2 separate regions of the Homo sapiens genome follow, and region 2 is linked to region 1. Evidence: promoter capture Hi-C in 16 types of primary human blood cells and fetal thymus (Javierre and others, 2016). All regions are on one chromosome and are shown on one strand. Each heading gives the region's core, a stretch centred on a gene start or on the middle of the fragment in contact. The rest is flanking DNA. Distances are from core to core; before and after follow the strand shown. Region 1 holds the start of AGO2 (argonaute RISC catalytic component 2). Region 2 overlaps PTK2 (protein tyrosine kinase 2).

Region 1 (7,909 bases), core at 1,386-3,885:
TGCCTCAAGGGTTCAAGCGATTCTCCTGCCTCAGCCTCCCGAGTAGCTGGGACTACAGGCGTGCACCACCACGCCCAGCTAATTTTTGTATTTTTAGTAGAGACGGGGTTTCATGATGTTGGCCAGGATGGTCTCGATCTCTTGACCTCGTGATCCGCCCGCCTTGGCCTCCCAATGTAATTTTTCTATAATTCAAATTGAATGTCTTATAATTCTAAATTAGAAAGTATAAGATTAAAAAGAGTCTCAATGAAGACTATTCCAAAAATTCCTTTTACACAAAATTAAAAGCCTTAATGTGTAGCATAAAATGGAACTGCACCACAGACTTATAATTACAGCACGTTTGTACAACCTGAAACTTGGGTTCATTCCCATCCTGCCATTAGCTATGAATTATCCTGCAGACACATTTATTCTTTCAACCACTGTCCTGTTCCAGAGGGTCCACTCCCTACCAGGCCCACACCAAGGCAACAATCTCCAAAAAGCAGCGAGTGACAGAAACGAGCCTGTGGATCATGAGGGCCAAGGTACGCTGAAAAATGAAATCGACAAGACAGCATCCCGGGGCAGTGCACACAGTACAGCAGTGAGCTGGGGTGGCTTCCTGAAGCCCCGCTGTCAATGACAAGTATGCGGGCAGGTGCTGGTCCAGTCCAGCCCTAACAGAGACTTCTTACTGTGGGTCTGGGTTATAGGGCTTGAAAGGGACTGCCCTGAGGAAGGCACCCAGAGAACCAGCTCGGAAGTCGGACCGATTGTCCTGATACTCACTCACTGCTGTGTGACCTTGGTGAAGTTCTCAACCTCTGTGAGCCTCGGCTGTCTGTCTTCACAAACACCACCAACCTCAGCAAGTGGAGTGAATTAAGTAACACGCAAAACACAACACAGAAAGCTTGACCTTCCTTAAAGCCTCTTCACTTTTTCTGGGCCTCCAACTTTTAAAACCGATAACCTGAAAAAATGTAGTGCTGTCAGTCCCATAAGCTGGGTTCCTCTACAAAGAGGAGCTGGAAGGTCCCAACTCACAAGGGGATGCCCGGTCCTTTCCCAAGAGGGGGCCTGGCCACCCAAGGCCTCTAGAGGCCAGCACCTGCTCCAGGACTGCGGCCCCTCCCAGGTGGAGGGGGAAAATCATTCTTCAAACTGCTGATGGCCCTCAGGGGTTGAAAAGTTGGTCAGACTCCGCCTTGTTGAAGCTTTCTAAATGACATCAGAAAAAAGACGCGACATTCGCAAGGCACAGAGCCAACAGCTCCAGCAGTGGGGGCCACCATCAACGGACCAAGGTGGGCCAGGGGGCCTTCCGGACCCCACAATTTGGGGCCGGTCTGCAGCAACGAGGGCAGCATCGGGAATGCGAGCCTCCTCGCCCGGCCGGGTAAACATAAGCCCAGAGCCCGGCGGGGCCTGCGCCGCCTGCGGCCCGGCTGGGGCCCAGCGGACAAAGGGGAGCAGGCGGTGCCCCGTCCCAGCGGCCAGGCCGGCCGAGAGAGCCAGGAGCCACGTGCCCGGTGGGAGCACGCCAAAAGCAGGAGAACACCTGACCGTTTTTTTGGCCCACCAAGGAGACCGCCTTCTACTCTGCATTTAAAAAGAAAAACAACGCGTTACCGCTTTAAGTTTTTTAGAACTTTTCCAGAGAAAGGCCGACTAGCAACAAGGGGTGCTACAGGAATCCACCTCGCCTCACCTCTCCTAGGAAATTGTAAAAGGAATTAGCACTTGAATGGGGAGGCCGGCGTGTCTGGAATGAGAACGAGCCGCGCACGCAGTTTGAGGGTTCCGGGGAGCCGCGTCCTCCCCTTTCCAGGCGACAGCCCTAACTACAGGAATTGGCCAAAATTCAGCATTTCCAGACTTTCCTTGGGAAAAGGGGCCGAAGAAGTGCCGGCAACAAGAAGGGCCACAACGGAGCGCGCCACAGACTCACCGCGGCTGGGGTCGGGACCGGCGCAGCCCCCTCCCCTCCCGCCCGTGCGCGCCCCGAGCCGGGCGCCCCGACCCGGCCTCCACCCGCTCAGGCGCTCAGGGTCAGGCCGGGCCGGGCTGCGGCGCCCCCATCCCCGCCCGGGCAGCGAGGCCGGGCCAAGCGGGGCGCTCCGGGCCTCGGGCCTACACGCGGCGGCCGCCTCGGCCCCGGCCCCAGCCCGCGGGCCCCGGGCGGGGGATGCGAGGACGCTGGGACGCGGGCCCGAGGCGCGGGAGGGGCCCAGGCCGCGCGGGGCGCCCCGACGACTCGCGGGGGCCGAGGAGGCCGGGGCTGCGCGTCCAACGCGGGGCCGAGAAAACGGCCGGCTCGGCCCCGCCGCCGCCGCTCCTCGAGCCCCCAAGCGCGGCCCCGGCTCGCCCGCCCCCGGCCCCCGCCGCCCCGACCCCGCGGCCCCCCGATCCCCGGCCCCTGCCGCCCGCGCCGGGCCCGCCAACCACGGGCAGGAGCGCGCGAACGGCCGGGCGGGCGCCCCGAGCGCCAGGACTCACCGGGGCCGGCTCCCGAGTACATGGTGGCGCCGCCGAGGGGCTCCGGGGCCGAGGGGCGGCCGCGCGCGCGCCACGGGCCCCGACGCCGCGAGCCGCGAGGGAGCCGCCGGCCGCACGATCCGCCCCGGCGCGGCCGCCTCGCCAAACAGGTTTACCCGACGCGGCCGGGGCGGCGGGCGGAGGCGGCGGCGGGAGCGGGAGCGGGAGGGGCGGGGGAGGAAGGAGGAGGGAGGGGGAGGGGAGGCGAGGCCGGCGGCGGGAGCGCGCTCGCGGGGGGAGCGGGGCTGGGCGCGCGGGCGGGGTCCGCGGCGGCGGCGGCGGCGGCGCCGGGTCTGGCGGGGCCTGGGGCGGGGACCCGGGGAGGGGCCCGGAGACCTCGCCGGGCGGTGGGAACCGCGGGCGGGAGCGGGGACGAGGGCCGAGGGCGGCGCGGCCCGTGTGGCGCGGGGGCGGGCGCGGCCCCGGGGACCCTTCACTGCCACCCAGAGAAGCCGCGTCTTCCCGACGGGGAGGAGCCGGGCCCCCCGGCTGTGCCGCCGGAGCCGGAGGGGAGGCCACGCGCCCCCGCTTTCCCCGCCGCCCCCCGGTGGGGGGCGCAGAACCCTCCCACCCTCAGCCCCTCGGCCCCCAGCCTGGCTCTTTAAGTTACTACAGAAACACGGAGGTCGGGAAGCTCCCTCCCAGCCCGGAGCTTGAACTTGAACGCGGCCGGCCGCTCGCGCAGGACCACACCGCCACCTCCCGGCGCGGCCCCAGAACCCAGATAATCCGTTTAAAGCACTGAGAAAATCTAAGAAGTTTTTAGTAAACTGTAGCTGGTATCAGGGATCAGATCAGCGGACACGCCCATTCCAGCAGTCAGGGGCCTGCTCGGACCGTCGTGCACCTCCGAGCGTTTCTGTCCGGTCCCTCTGGGTCCGTCTGGTTTTCGGAGGCTTTCCTGGAAAAGCCAGCCTGTGGCTACCTCCTTTCTCCCCTAAGTGATGGAGGATTAGAAGGCAGAGGTTGACCCACAATCTAAAGTGCCTGGTCGCCTTTTCCCAGATTTCCCGGAGCATTCCTTCACCCCGTGGCATCGGCTGTCTGCATATGGGTGCAAGGCCCTGTTCCGGGCGGAGAATAAACAGGAGTTCTGACTGACAGGAGCTCCGCAGCCAGCAGGGTGGTCACTAGTTCTCTGCAGTCTCGGAGGACAGCCCTGAAGAAGGGCAGGAGAACCAGCACTTCCTCCGAAAACTCAAAAGGACATCAGTCTTCACCAAGTTGCCGATACAAAACGTGCTCCTGAAATGTGTAGTAATGAACACCAGGAAACCTGGGTAGGAGTGTGCATGGCATTCTTCATCACCGCTTGGACTGCATGGCACTGAATACCCACGGAGAGCAGGATGGAGAAACAGTGTGCTCATATTCACAGGATGGAATCTAGCCATTCACAAAAATTCCAAAACAGGCAAAATTAAACTGCATTCTTTAGGGAAGCATCATTAAGTAGTAAATAATTGACAGAAGGGCAAGAAGGTGCTTACTCTAAGTGTCAGAATGGTGGATACAGCTGGGGGTGAGAGGGCTGTGACCACAGCAGGGCCCCTGGGGGATTTGGGGGTGCCAGGCCTGTTCCTTCCTGCAATGGTGCCCTTTGGCAGCCATCCCTTAAACTGCACTTTTACTTTATATGCTTTTCTGTACCTTTACTGTAGTATTTCACGGAAATTTTTAAATAATCATGAATGTTACCACTTTCCTATTTATGAACCATGCAACCTCATCAATCTTCCCAGTTCGCAGATGCCCACCCTCTCTCTCTGCCCCTGTCTCCTTCACATATCCCCAAAACTCGTTTTGGCCCGAAATCCCTGAGGCCCAACTGCCCTGCTGTCAGCGACTGCACGCCTCAGCAAAGGCCCAGAAGGCTCTGTCATCACTGGCTGCCCTCAGCCCGCCTTCAGCTCCTTTGAGCGCTGTGTTGGGGAACTTTGTTGCAAGGATTTCGTTCCAGAAGGCAAGATAATGTCTCTGAGGGCTTCATTGTGTCACTTCTCTTTGGATGGCGGACACCGTGGCCCTCTGCTGGCGGAGGGGTGCCATTGCTGCCTGCCCCATCTCTATCCCCAGGGCCCATGCAGTCACTGGGTTCGCCCTCTGGGGCACGGGGTTCCCTCTGCTCTTTTCCTAGATAAGCCCATTCTCTGCAGGTCTCTACCCTCCACACCTGTGTTCAGGAATTCAGCCCGCTTCCTGCAGCCCCATCCCTACCCTCCTCCCAACCTGCTTTTCTTCTGGTGTCCCTCACTCAGCATGGCTAACAGATCCACCACCCAACGGAGCTGAGAACTGCAGTCCCCTCTGCCTGTTACCTCTCCTGCCATTAGTGAACCTGCTTAACTCATCTGACTGTGCGTCTCGGTGCTTGCTGTGACATGTCTCCAGCCCTTGCTGCTCTGTCCCCCAGACCCACGTCCCACACCCGGATGGTGACTCAGCCGACTCTGGGTCTTCTGGACCCAGTGCTTCTCCCTGATACAATTCCTTCCTCTGTGTTTTAGGATCCTGATGCTTTGATAAGACCGTGGGCTCTAATCACAGCCAGGGACATTTGCAGCAGCCTGGCCTGCAGCTCTGCACACTGGGTGCACTCAGTCTAAAGCACCAGCTCCCCATGAGAGAGAAAGAAGGGGTGAGGGGAAGTACAGAGAAAGCTCCTGAGGCCACAGGGCTGACAAAGCCCTCGGCTTTGGGGGCACTTTGTTTCTTCAAGACTAAAATGCAGGCAATGGAATAAATCATTTGTTCCTAAAACATGTTCTGCACATGATTAAAGCAGCTTTGGGAAGTCAAGTAAATTGGGAAGCACTGGATCAAACAATGATAAATAAGTTTATTGTCTGCAGGCCTTCTCAGAGCCTGTAGCAAGGTGAGAAGAATCATGCTTCTACAAAGAGGAAGGAGGGCATGAGACAGTATGCAACCTGTCCCAAACCCATTTAGCCACAGAACCCTTTTTTCACGAGGTACCTCAAGGTTCCGTGGAGCATAATTTAGGAAACACAGAGGTAGAGGTCTTCTATGATCCCTTCCAGCTCTAATAGTCTATGATTCTTTGAGTAATATATACTTTGAGACAGGATCACCAAAGTGAAAGTGTAGTGGCGAAAACACAGCTCATTGCAGCCTTGACTTCCCAGGCTCAAGTGATCCTCCCACCTCAGCCTCCTGAGCAGCTGGGACCACAGGTGCATGCCACCATGCCTGGCTAATTTTTAAAAACTTTTGTAGAGACAGGTCTCACTGTGTTGCTCAGGTTGGTCTTGAACTGCTTGGCCCAAGTGATCCTCCCACCTTGGCCTCCTCAAAGTGCTGGGATTACAGGCATGAGCCACTACACCTGACCTTATTTTTTTTGTTTTTGTATTTTTCTAGACAGGGTCTCACTCTATTGCCCATGCTGGAGTGCAGTGGTGCAATCATAGCTCACTGCAGCCTCCTGGACTTAAATAATCCTCCTACCTCAGCCTCCCAAGTTACTAGGACTACAAGAGTATCCCACCAGGCTCAGCTAATCTTTGTAGAGATGATGTTTCACCATATTGTCCAGGCTGGTTTCAAATTCCTGGGCTCAAGTGATCCACCAGCCTCAGCCCCCAAAGTGCTGGGACTACAAGTGTGAGACACTATGCCCAGACTGGTTTTTTGTTTTGTTTTGTTTTTTAATTAAAAACTAAGCAGGTGGCTCACGCCTGTAATCCTAGCACTTTGGGAGGCCAAGGCAGGTGGATCACGAGGTCAGGAGATAGAGACCATCCTGGCTAACACGGTGAAACCCTGTCTCTACTAAAAATACAAAAAATTAGCTGGTTGTGGTGGCACGCGCCTGTAGTCCCAGCTACTCGGGAGGCTGAGGCAGGAGAATCACTTGAACCTGGGAGGCGGAGGTCGCAGTGAGCCGAGATTGTGCCACTGCACTCCAACCTGGAGGACAGAGCGAAACTCCATCTGAAAAAAAAAAAAAACTAAGCAGGCCATATGCAGTGGTTTGTGCCCAAAGTCTCAGTGCTTTGGGAGGTCAAGGTGAGAGGATTGCTTGAGGCCACGAGTTCCAGACCAGCCTGGGGACCCCATCGCTACAAAATAAAAAAAAATTAGCTGAACATGGTGGCACACATCTGTAGTCCCAGCTACTCAGGAGACTGAGGTGGGAGGATTGCTTGAGCCCAGGAGGTCGAGGCTGCAGTGAGCTATAACTGTGCCACTGCATTCCAGCCTGGGTGACAGAGTGAGACCCTGTTTCAGAAACAAAACAAAAACAGGCCATGATAACCTCTTTAAAATCTGCCAGTGCCATCCTCCACTGGGTCTGCCAGCTGGGCCCCCTTTGCAGGATAGGGTGGAGGGGCCTGGATGTGGTGTTCCCTTGACTGGTGAGCGTGTCTGAATACAGGCCACACCTTCTGCTTCTTCAGGTAACCATCTCTAGACAAGAGGTACTTCATTTTGGCCCTCTGTTTCCTCTCAAGTTGCCATTTTTTTTTAATTTTTAATTTTAAGACAGTGCCTTGCTCTGTCTCCTAGGCTGGAGAGCAGTGGTGCCATCTCGGCTCATTGCAGCCTTCGCCTCCTGGGTTCGAGTGATTCTCCTGCCTCAGCCTCCCCAGCAGCTGGGATTACAGGCGCATGCCACCACACCCGGCTAATTTTTTGTATTTTTAGTAGAGATGGGGTTTCATCATGTTGGCCAGGCTTGTCTTGAGCTCCTGACCTCAAGTGATCTGTCTGCCTTGGCCTCCCGAAGTGCTGGGATTACAGGCGTGAGCCACCATGCACAGCCAAACTGCATTCTTTTTGTTTGTTTTATTATTTTTTTTCTTTTCAAACTGTATTTTTTTCAGGCAGGCATTGATCTCTGCTTTTTAGTCTGGCACACTTACTTACAGCCCCCTAAATTTAACTCTGAATCTAGTTCCTCTTCAAAGGATGGTGTCTCACCTATGAGGTGTGGGTGCCCTTGCCTTCCTTTGCCCCAGCCTGAGGACAGCTGGTGTTTCTTTTTTTTTTGAGATGGAGTCTCGCTCTGTTGCACAGGCTAGAGTGCCAGTGGTGCAATCCCAGCTCACTGCAACCTCCACCTCCCGGGTTCAAGCGATTCTCCTACCTCAGCCTCCTGAGTAGCTAGGAGTACTGGCATGCGCCACCATGCCCAGCTAATTTTTTGTATTTGTAGTAGAGACGGGGTTTCACCATATTGGCCAGGCTGGTCTCGAACTCCTGACCTTGTGATCCGCCCGCCTTGGCCTCCCAAAGTGCTAGGATTACAGGCGTGAGCCACCACGCCTGGCCCAGCTGGTGTTCCTAAGCATGATGTGAAGACCACCCAGAGCACATGAGAGATGCTGCCACAAATTGTTTAAGGTCAAGAGTTACAAAT
Region 2 (7,909 bases), core at 2,291-4,790, 310 kb after region 1:
CACATCTAACACAATTCACAGTACAAAATCGAGAGTATCTTTGTCTCCCCTCATGCAAAGAGAGACGATGCAAATAGAAGGCGTCCATCACTAAGTCCACTAGTGTAGGGCTGTCCTGTTCCCTGTGCTTTCATTCTATGTCCTGACCAAATACCAGAGTGCTTTGACCGCTCTGTGACCCAGCCACGTGCAGGTTTTCCCTAGCAAGCTTGAACTCAGTATGGAGCCTTAAACATTCCCAGGCATTGATAAAGGTATCTAAGTTGCTGCACAAAACACTAAAAGAAACTAGCCCTAGACCTGAGACAAATTCCTCAAACTCTCATAAAAACTCCACACCTTAATCCCCTTGCTGCAGACATACCTAGAGAGAACACCGCCCCACTCCTTTTTGCTGTCTGTCACAAGGATTGTCGCAATCCTCTGTAAGTTTCCCCAATAAATGCTCTAGACTGATCACCCTGGTGTTTAGTACTTCTTTCTTTAGAATCCCAACCAGCCCCATCTCAGGATAATCTGGAGCACTCCCTTGTGGGAACTGCCCTGCCACTGCTTTGGGGGCAACTCCAGCCTCAGCTCAGTGGTACAAAACAAAGAGCTTCAGCTGAGGAAACAACTCCGCACCACCCCTTGGGTAAATGTCTGGCAGCAGCCACAGTATGTCCTAAAATAAAAACAGCCATCATGATTACTGTACAAATGCCATGCAAACATTTGACCAAGCTTTGTTATCCTCTTCTTCTCAATAAAATCCACTTATAAACTGACTCGTTTTCATAATCAAAATATTTTACCTAGGTGTGGTGGTGCATGCCTGTAATGTCAACTACTCAGGAGGCTAAGGCAGGAGGATCGCTTGAGCCCAAGAGTTCAAATCCAGACTGGGCAATACAGTAAGACCCCATTCTCAGTATTTTTTTTTTTGAAAAAAGAATATTTTTGCATAAAAAGTCACACCCTGCTTTCCTCCCCTCTTCCATCTTCTTACGTGAATAAAAGTAGGGTTGGGGAAGAAAAGGAAAGGGCTGGGGGCAAACAAAGGATACATCTTCTTCAACAGTCTGAACAATCTTCCAGATGCATACACAATAAACTTTATCATCTAATGAATAAAAGTATATCCTAACCTTTAAATCCAGAGACTTATTCTAAACATTTAAAGCCAGATTCGAAAAAACTATACATTTTATTTTTAAATGTTTACTAGTTCAAAATTTTTCATTCAAGAAATTGCAAAAAAATTAATGACAAGCATACATAAGTGATCAAAGTTTTCCCACATCTATCACTGCTATTGATATGTGTACTATACAAGTTCAGCTCTATATACTGCAAGTTCAGCTCTAACAATGATCAAGTCTCATCTGCCCCTAGTCCATCAAAAGATGATAGATTTAGGATCCAGTTTCCACACAAATCCAACAGGTAGCCTTCATCAACCCTACAGGCCCAGAATAAAATTATCATTTGGGGTTGCACAAATCTTCCACAGTCAAATATTACATACCATTCTGGCCATGTGGCCTAGAAGTCACATCTAGTCCCTCATTCTAGGTCACCTATGTCATACATATACCCAAACACCATTATTCTACCAGGATTTTTTTTATTTCAAAGCTGTTGTCACTAGGAGATAAAAACTAGGTAGTATGTACACATTTATTCACTTTATGGTAAATCATTTCGCAAAAGGCTTATACAATGAAAAATTATTTTGATATTTGTCCTGCTCTGGCATTAACTATTTATTAGTGATAATCTCGATGTCACAAATTAAGAAAGAAAGATACCTTTTAAAAGGGAGAGACTGAGTTACTAAAATTTACATCAAAATCTAGGCGAAGTGCCAAAAACAACTCCAAATCACCAAGGAATCATCTGAAAGATGAGTGGGGAAAAATGAACAGAAGAACAGAGTAGAGCACGGGGCCTGGCCCACGGAAGGCACTCAACTGTGTCGAATGAAAGAATAAATCCATTTACTTTTCTTGATTCACATTCACTCATCACTAGCTCCAGCTACACTTACTGTTCGTATTGACATATCCTAACATATCCCTGATAGGATGGGCAAGTAATAAATACAGACTTTTGCTTGAAGAACTTGGGATTAACAGTTATGTTCATGATGAAAAACACAACATCCTGTACATCAGGAAAGAAACACTACTTTGCATTTGGGAGGCCGAGGCGGGTGGATCACCTGAAGCCAGGAGTTCGAGACCAGCCTGGCCAAAATAGTGAAACAAAAAAATTGGCCAGGTGTGGATGGCGCCACTTGAGAGACTCAGGCAGGCCTGAACCCGGGAAACGGAGCTTGCAGTGAGATGAGATAGTGCCACTGCACTCCAGTCTGGGTGACAAAGCGAGACTCTGTCTCAAAAAAAAAAGACTAAAGAGTCATGACTATATATTACAAGTGATTCCAGACAGGATCCTGTATCAAGGGTAAGAACTGCTATAAGGGACATCACTTGCCAAAATATGACCATGGTCTACAGCCATGCCATCCAATCTCAAAAGCTAAGCAGCGTGGGGCCTGGTTAGTAGTATTGGGATTGGGAGGCTGCCTGAAAATACTGGGTGCTGTAGGCTTAAAATAAAATTGTTTTTTTAATATGAACATGGCCGGGCACAGTGGCTCACGCCTGTAATCCCAGCACTTTGGGAGGCTGAGGCAGGCAGATCACCTGAGATCAGGAGTTCAAGACCAGCCTGGACAACATGGTAAAACCCTGTCTCTACTAAAAATACAAAAATTAGCCGGGCATGGTGGTGAGTACCTGCGCTACTTGGGAGGCTGAGGCAGGAGAATTGCTTGAACCCAGGAGGCAGTGGTTGCAGTGAGCTGAGACCACACCATTGCATTCCAGCCTGGGTGACAAGAGCGAAACTCCATCTCAAAAAAAATTTTTTTAATTAAAAAAAAATAAATTCAACATGTGTAATACAACAATCACACACATAAATTCAACTGAAATGAACACAATATGAACAGCTATCCCAAGTTCATGCAATGACAAGTGAACCATGAATGACTGCCACCTGGGCTACACCAACCGGAACTGTCACCAATTCTAAAAAGCGTACCAGCACACTTTTAAGCCTTCAAAACCAGGGTTAAGTTAATGAAGACATTCCCAGAGAAAAATACAGGGATGGAGTGAGACAATAAAATATAAAAAGCAGAACAATCAGCAATCTCCCTCCTGTTCCCAAACACCAAATGTCAAAGAGGCTACCATTAGATATTTACTGTGTGATCAACACACAAATAGTTCTCTGCAGAGGCTGTAATAAACAGGTCTCATCTGCTGGAGACAGTGTCTCAAGACACAGAAGAGCATATGCATTAAATAAACAAAAAGCAACTTAGGAAGCCCTACTGTAATGCACCTTATTCTATCACTGATTCTATTAGTGCCACACATTATAGTATATCCTGAAGATCGTAAAATGATGAGCTCATCATTTAAAATAAACTGATTTTTAAACGAAAATTAGAACATACAACTTTCTACTTTGATTCCACTCCTACTCACTGTTGTGGCTTTTTAACCAAGAGTTTATTGGGAAAAAAAATGCTAAATGGCTGCTCCACAGGACATCAACAAGTACCACAAAGTAGTAATGAGCAACTCTATTTTTTTTTTGGAGACAGGGTCTCACTTTTGTCACCTACGCTGGGATGCAGTGGCATGATCTCAGCTCAATGCAGCCTCGACCCCTCAGGCTCAGGCGATCCTCCCACCTCAGTCTCCCAAGTACCTGGGACTACAGGCACGCACCACCACGCCCAGCTAACTTTTTGTTTGTTTGTTTGTTTGTTTGTTTTATTGAGAGAGGGACTTGCTCTGTCGTCCAGGCTGCAGTGCAGTGGGGTGAACATAGCTCACTGCAGCTTGACCACCCCCAGGTTCAAGCAATTCTCCCGCCTCAGCCTCCCGAGTAGCTGGGACCACAGGCATGTGCCACCACACCTGGCTAATTTTAAAATTTTTTGTAGAGATGAGGTGTTGCCATGTTGTTCAAACTCCTGGGCTCAAGCGATCCTCCCACCTCAGCCTCCCAAAGGGTTGGGATTACAGGCATGAACCTCTGCACCTAGACTTACTATGTACATTCTTAATTCTAGCAGTTTAAAACATAAATGTACCCTACCATTATAGCTCATTAACTATTAACTAAAAGATGGAGCTGAAGACTGCATAGTTTCATCAATATAAGAAATAGCATTTTTATTTATAACGCTGATAAAACTATTTTTCTCCAGAGCTACAAGAACTTGAGCAACAAATACTAAAATAACTTTTAAACATCTTTTATTTCTGCTAATTATATGACCTTTATAATATACAATCTCATTATACAAAGACAAATATAAAGCCTTTAGGCCACAAATAAATCAGATTACATAAATGAATCAAGGACTTCAAGACTGTTTTCAAAAGCAGTGTCTACACTGAAATCTACTTCACTTCAACTTTGGTGGTACCTAATCCAGACAAATAAATGTTGATCCAGCTGGAAAGAAAATTTGAGCTCTAATGAGTGCGTGCGTGTGTGTGTGTGTGTGTGCGCGCATATATGTGTGCAAGAGTATATGGATAATATCTGTTTGCATATAAGTCACTTTTTCTTCTCTTTAAAGTTTTATTTCTTGAGGCATAACGTGCACAATAAAAACATCAGGTGGATGGTGATAAGGACTGGATCTGTTTCCCAGCCAAATCTCATGTTGAAATGTAGTCCCCAGTGTTGGAAGTGCAGCCTGGTAGGAGGTGTTTGGATCACGGGGGCGTATTCCTCATGAATGGCTTAGTGCCATTCCCTTGGTGACAAGCGAGTTCATGTGAGATCTGGTTGTTTAAAAGTGTATGGCACCTCCCACTCTCTCTCTTGTTCTCTCTTGCCATGTGACGCATCTGCTCCCACTTCACCTTCCATCATGAGTAAAAGCTCTCCGACGCCTCCCTGGAAGCCGGTGCCATGTTTCCTGTACAGCCCGCAGAACAGTGAGCCGATTAAACCTCTTTTCTTTACAAATTACCCAGTCTTGGGTATTTCTTTATACCAACGCAAGAACAGCCTAATACAAGTGGGTCTGTGTAACCACCACCACGCTGAAGACACAGACTATTTCCATCACCCCAAGAAGTGCCCCCATGCTCTTTTATACTCAATTCTCTCTTCCGCCCCAGGCAACCACTGATTTTATTTCTGTTCTTACAGATTTGACTTACCAAAATGTTATATAAATGAAATCACAGTTATATGGAGTTTAGTGTTTTCACTTAGTAGACTGCTTTGAAGATCTGCCCATTTTGTTAGGTGCGTCAGCAGTTAGTTCCTTTTTATTGCTGTATAGGATTCCATTGTATAGGTGTACCAAAATCTGTTTATCCATTTACCAACTGATGGATATTTGAGCTGTCTCCAGTGATTACGAATAAAGCTGCTATAAATGTTCACATAGAGGTCATTGTAAGAAAATGTTTTCATTTCTCTTGAGTAAATATTTAGAAGTAGGACTGCTGGGTTGGGTGACAAGTCTATGTTCAACTTCATAAGAAAGTGCCAAACTGATTTCTTTAGCAATCATAACATTTTGCACTTCCACCAGCAAAGCAGGAGAGTACTAACTGTCTCACATTCTTGTCATGTGGCACTGTCACCTTCTTTTTGGTTTTTAACATCAGCCATTCTAATAGGGTTGCAATGATATCTCGTGTGGTTGTAATTTACATTTCCTAACGACTACTAATGTGGAACATCTTTTTGTGTGCTTACTCTCATTCATATGAAATGGATGAAATGTCTGTCCAAATCTTTTGGCCACTTTTTCATTGAAATTTTTATTGAGACACCTATCTTTTTTAATCAGACAGTTTATCAAAGAAAAAATGCTGAAGTGTTTGTATATTTTGTTAAACCATTTGGAATTCATGAGTACTGGGTAAAAATCTAAACTGCCTACTTGCCACCCCAACTCACAACACTATGATATGCAAAGACGGATTGAAAGAAAAAACACTCATCCCCGTCTCTTCCTTTCTCTGAAGGTAAGATCCTATGCAAAGTTGCCTGCCCACTTTCAGAATCAGGAAATCAAAATTTTCCCTGTTTTGACGAGTATTTTATGAAACTACACTCTTCCCTCAGTATAAGCCAGCAACACAGATGATTAAGAAATTTGCAAGGCTTTGCAGAAATACTGCATTTTAACACGACTGATACATTTTAAAAGGAAGTACAATACTAGAGGGGAAAGGGTCACTGGCAATTCAGTAGGTGGCACTATTCTTCTCTCTGTTAAATGTATGACTCCCAATTGTGCACTGTGGTTAACCTTAAGGCCTAAGCTTTACTGTAAGGAAATGGAGAACTTGATACTGCCACGAGGAATCTTGGACTGTCTTCTTAACTTCTCTAAGCCCAGTTTCTCATCTGTAAAATGAGAATAGTAATCAAAACCTTACTGAGCTGCTGTAAAGAATTAAGATTTGAATTAACACAATGACTGACACATGACAGCGATTACGATTTATGACTATTTCCTTCAGCCGCGACTCCTGAATCACAGTGCAAATAAAGACCAGAAGGATGTGCTCTTCACAAAACTGAGTAAAAAGTCAAAGCTTCAGCCGGCAAGTAATATTTGTGTACAGCGCACCCACTGAACATAACGGCCTGACCATCCATGAGAAGTCCCATGCATTTACACAAAAAGTACTCTAGAGTTTGCAATCATGAAGACCACTTGTGAACCTTATTTCTTAGCATTTTGCTTCAGCATTTCAAACTGAGCAATGCTTCTTTTAGAAAGGTACTCATCTCTTGGTTTTTCAGTATCTCATTATTGTTGGCTTAATTTTCTCTATATAGCTACGCCATATAGACGAAAGTTGTGCTTACATGCCTCAATGACATTTTTCCAACTTCCCTGCTTGCCCTCTCTCCAATTTGGCCAAACACGGAGCAGCTTCTTAAATTTCCTGTTGTCGTTCATCTTGTTCTTGCCTGAAAACTGAAGTGGTACTACAGCACTCATTCCTGCACTGATGAATTGGCTTGGATAGTTAGATGCCAAGATTATTAAGTTTTTGTAACCAATGCGTAAAGATTTTTCCGTAAATCAATATATAAAATCAACAGTTTAAGGTTATCACTTGAATTCAAGTGTTCCTGATATATCCTATGTTCAGGTTTTAGGACATTAATAATTTACCATCAAGGCTGGACACTATGGCTCATGCCTGTAATCCCAGCACTCTGGGATGCCAAGGCAGGAGGATCACTTGAGCCCAGGAGTTTGAGATTAGCCTGGGCAGCATAGTGAGAGCCTTCCTCCACAAAAAATTTTAAAAATTAGCCAGGCACAGTGGTGTGCACCTGTGGTCTCAGCTACTTGGGAGGTTGAGGCAGGAGGATCATTTGAACCCAGGAGTTTAAGGTTACAGTAAGCTATGAACATGCCACTCACTGTACTACAGCCTGGGTGACAAAATGAGACCTTTATTTCTCAAAAAAAAACAAAACAAAAAATATATCAATGTTTAACATTCTGATTGTCACAATTCCCATTTAAACTTTTTTAAAGCTCCTCAGGGCCTGATTGTCACAATTCCCATTTAAACTTTTTTAAAAGCTCTTCAGGGCAAAGTCAATAAGTTAATATACATATAATCTAAGAAGGTAACACAACACAGGCTTTTCAAGTCACCAAAAAATAAAAGATCACTTCCATCTCCATGCTTTTTCTGGCACCATTTTCACTACCTAGAATGCTCTTCCTCAACTCTAGTTTCTCCTTAACACAATTCCCCAAGAAGACATCATCTCCATTCCTCCTCTGTCCTTCCCATCAGTTTTTTCAATCAGTATTTTCTACTCACCTGTCTTACCTGTT

The links. The method cuts DNA at HindIII sites, captures the fragments that hold promoters and counts their contacts. A CHiCAGO score of 5 or more calls a contact.
Region 2: a fragment that was not itself captured here is called in contact with the fragment with the promoter of AGO2 in region 1 in 1 of 17 cell types (erythroblasts); the score reaches 5.2 in erythroblasts.

Annotation. Positions count from the first base shown.
Region 1 is chr8:140,632,998-140,640,906 of GRCh38, forward strand. AGO2 (argonaute RISC catalytic component 2) reads right to left here and starts at 2,636. Exons shown (of 19, transcript NM_012154.5): 1 at 2,488-2,636. The coding sequence starts at 2,509. ERICD (E2F1-regulated inhibitor of cell death) reads left to right here and starts at 1,238. Exons shown (of 1, transcript NR_170171.1): 1 at 1,238-5,286. RefSeq lists enhancers at 107-874, 875-1,641 and silencers at 1,448-1,497, 1,981-2,150, 2,801-3,200. The HindIII fragment of the contact is 24,992 bases long and covers 1,204-7,909 here.
Region 2 is chr8:140,938,069-140,945,977 of GRCh38, forward strand. All of the region lies in intron 1 of PTK2 (protein tyrosine kinase 2), which reads right to left. It also overlaps the pseudogene RNA5SP278. Among named protein-coding and RNA genes, the nearest start is that of PTK2, 59 kb to the right of the region's middle. The HindIII fragment of the contact is 5,639 bases long and covers 722-6,360 here.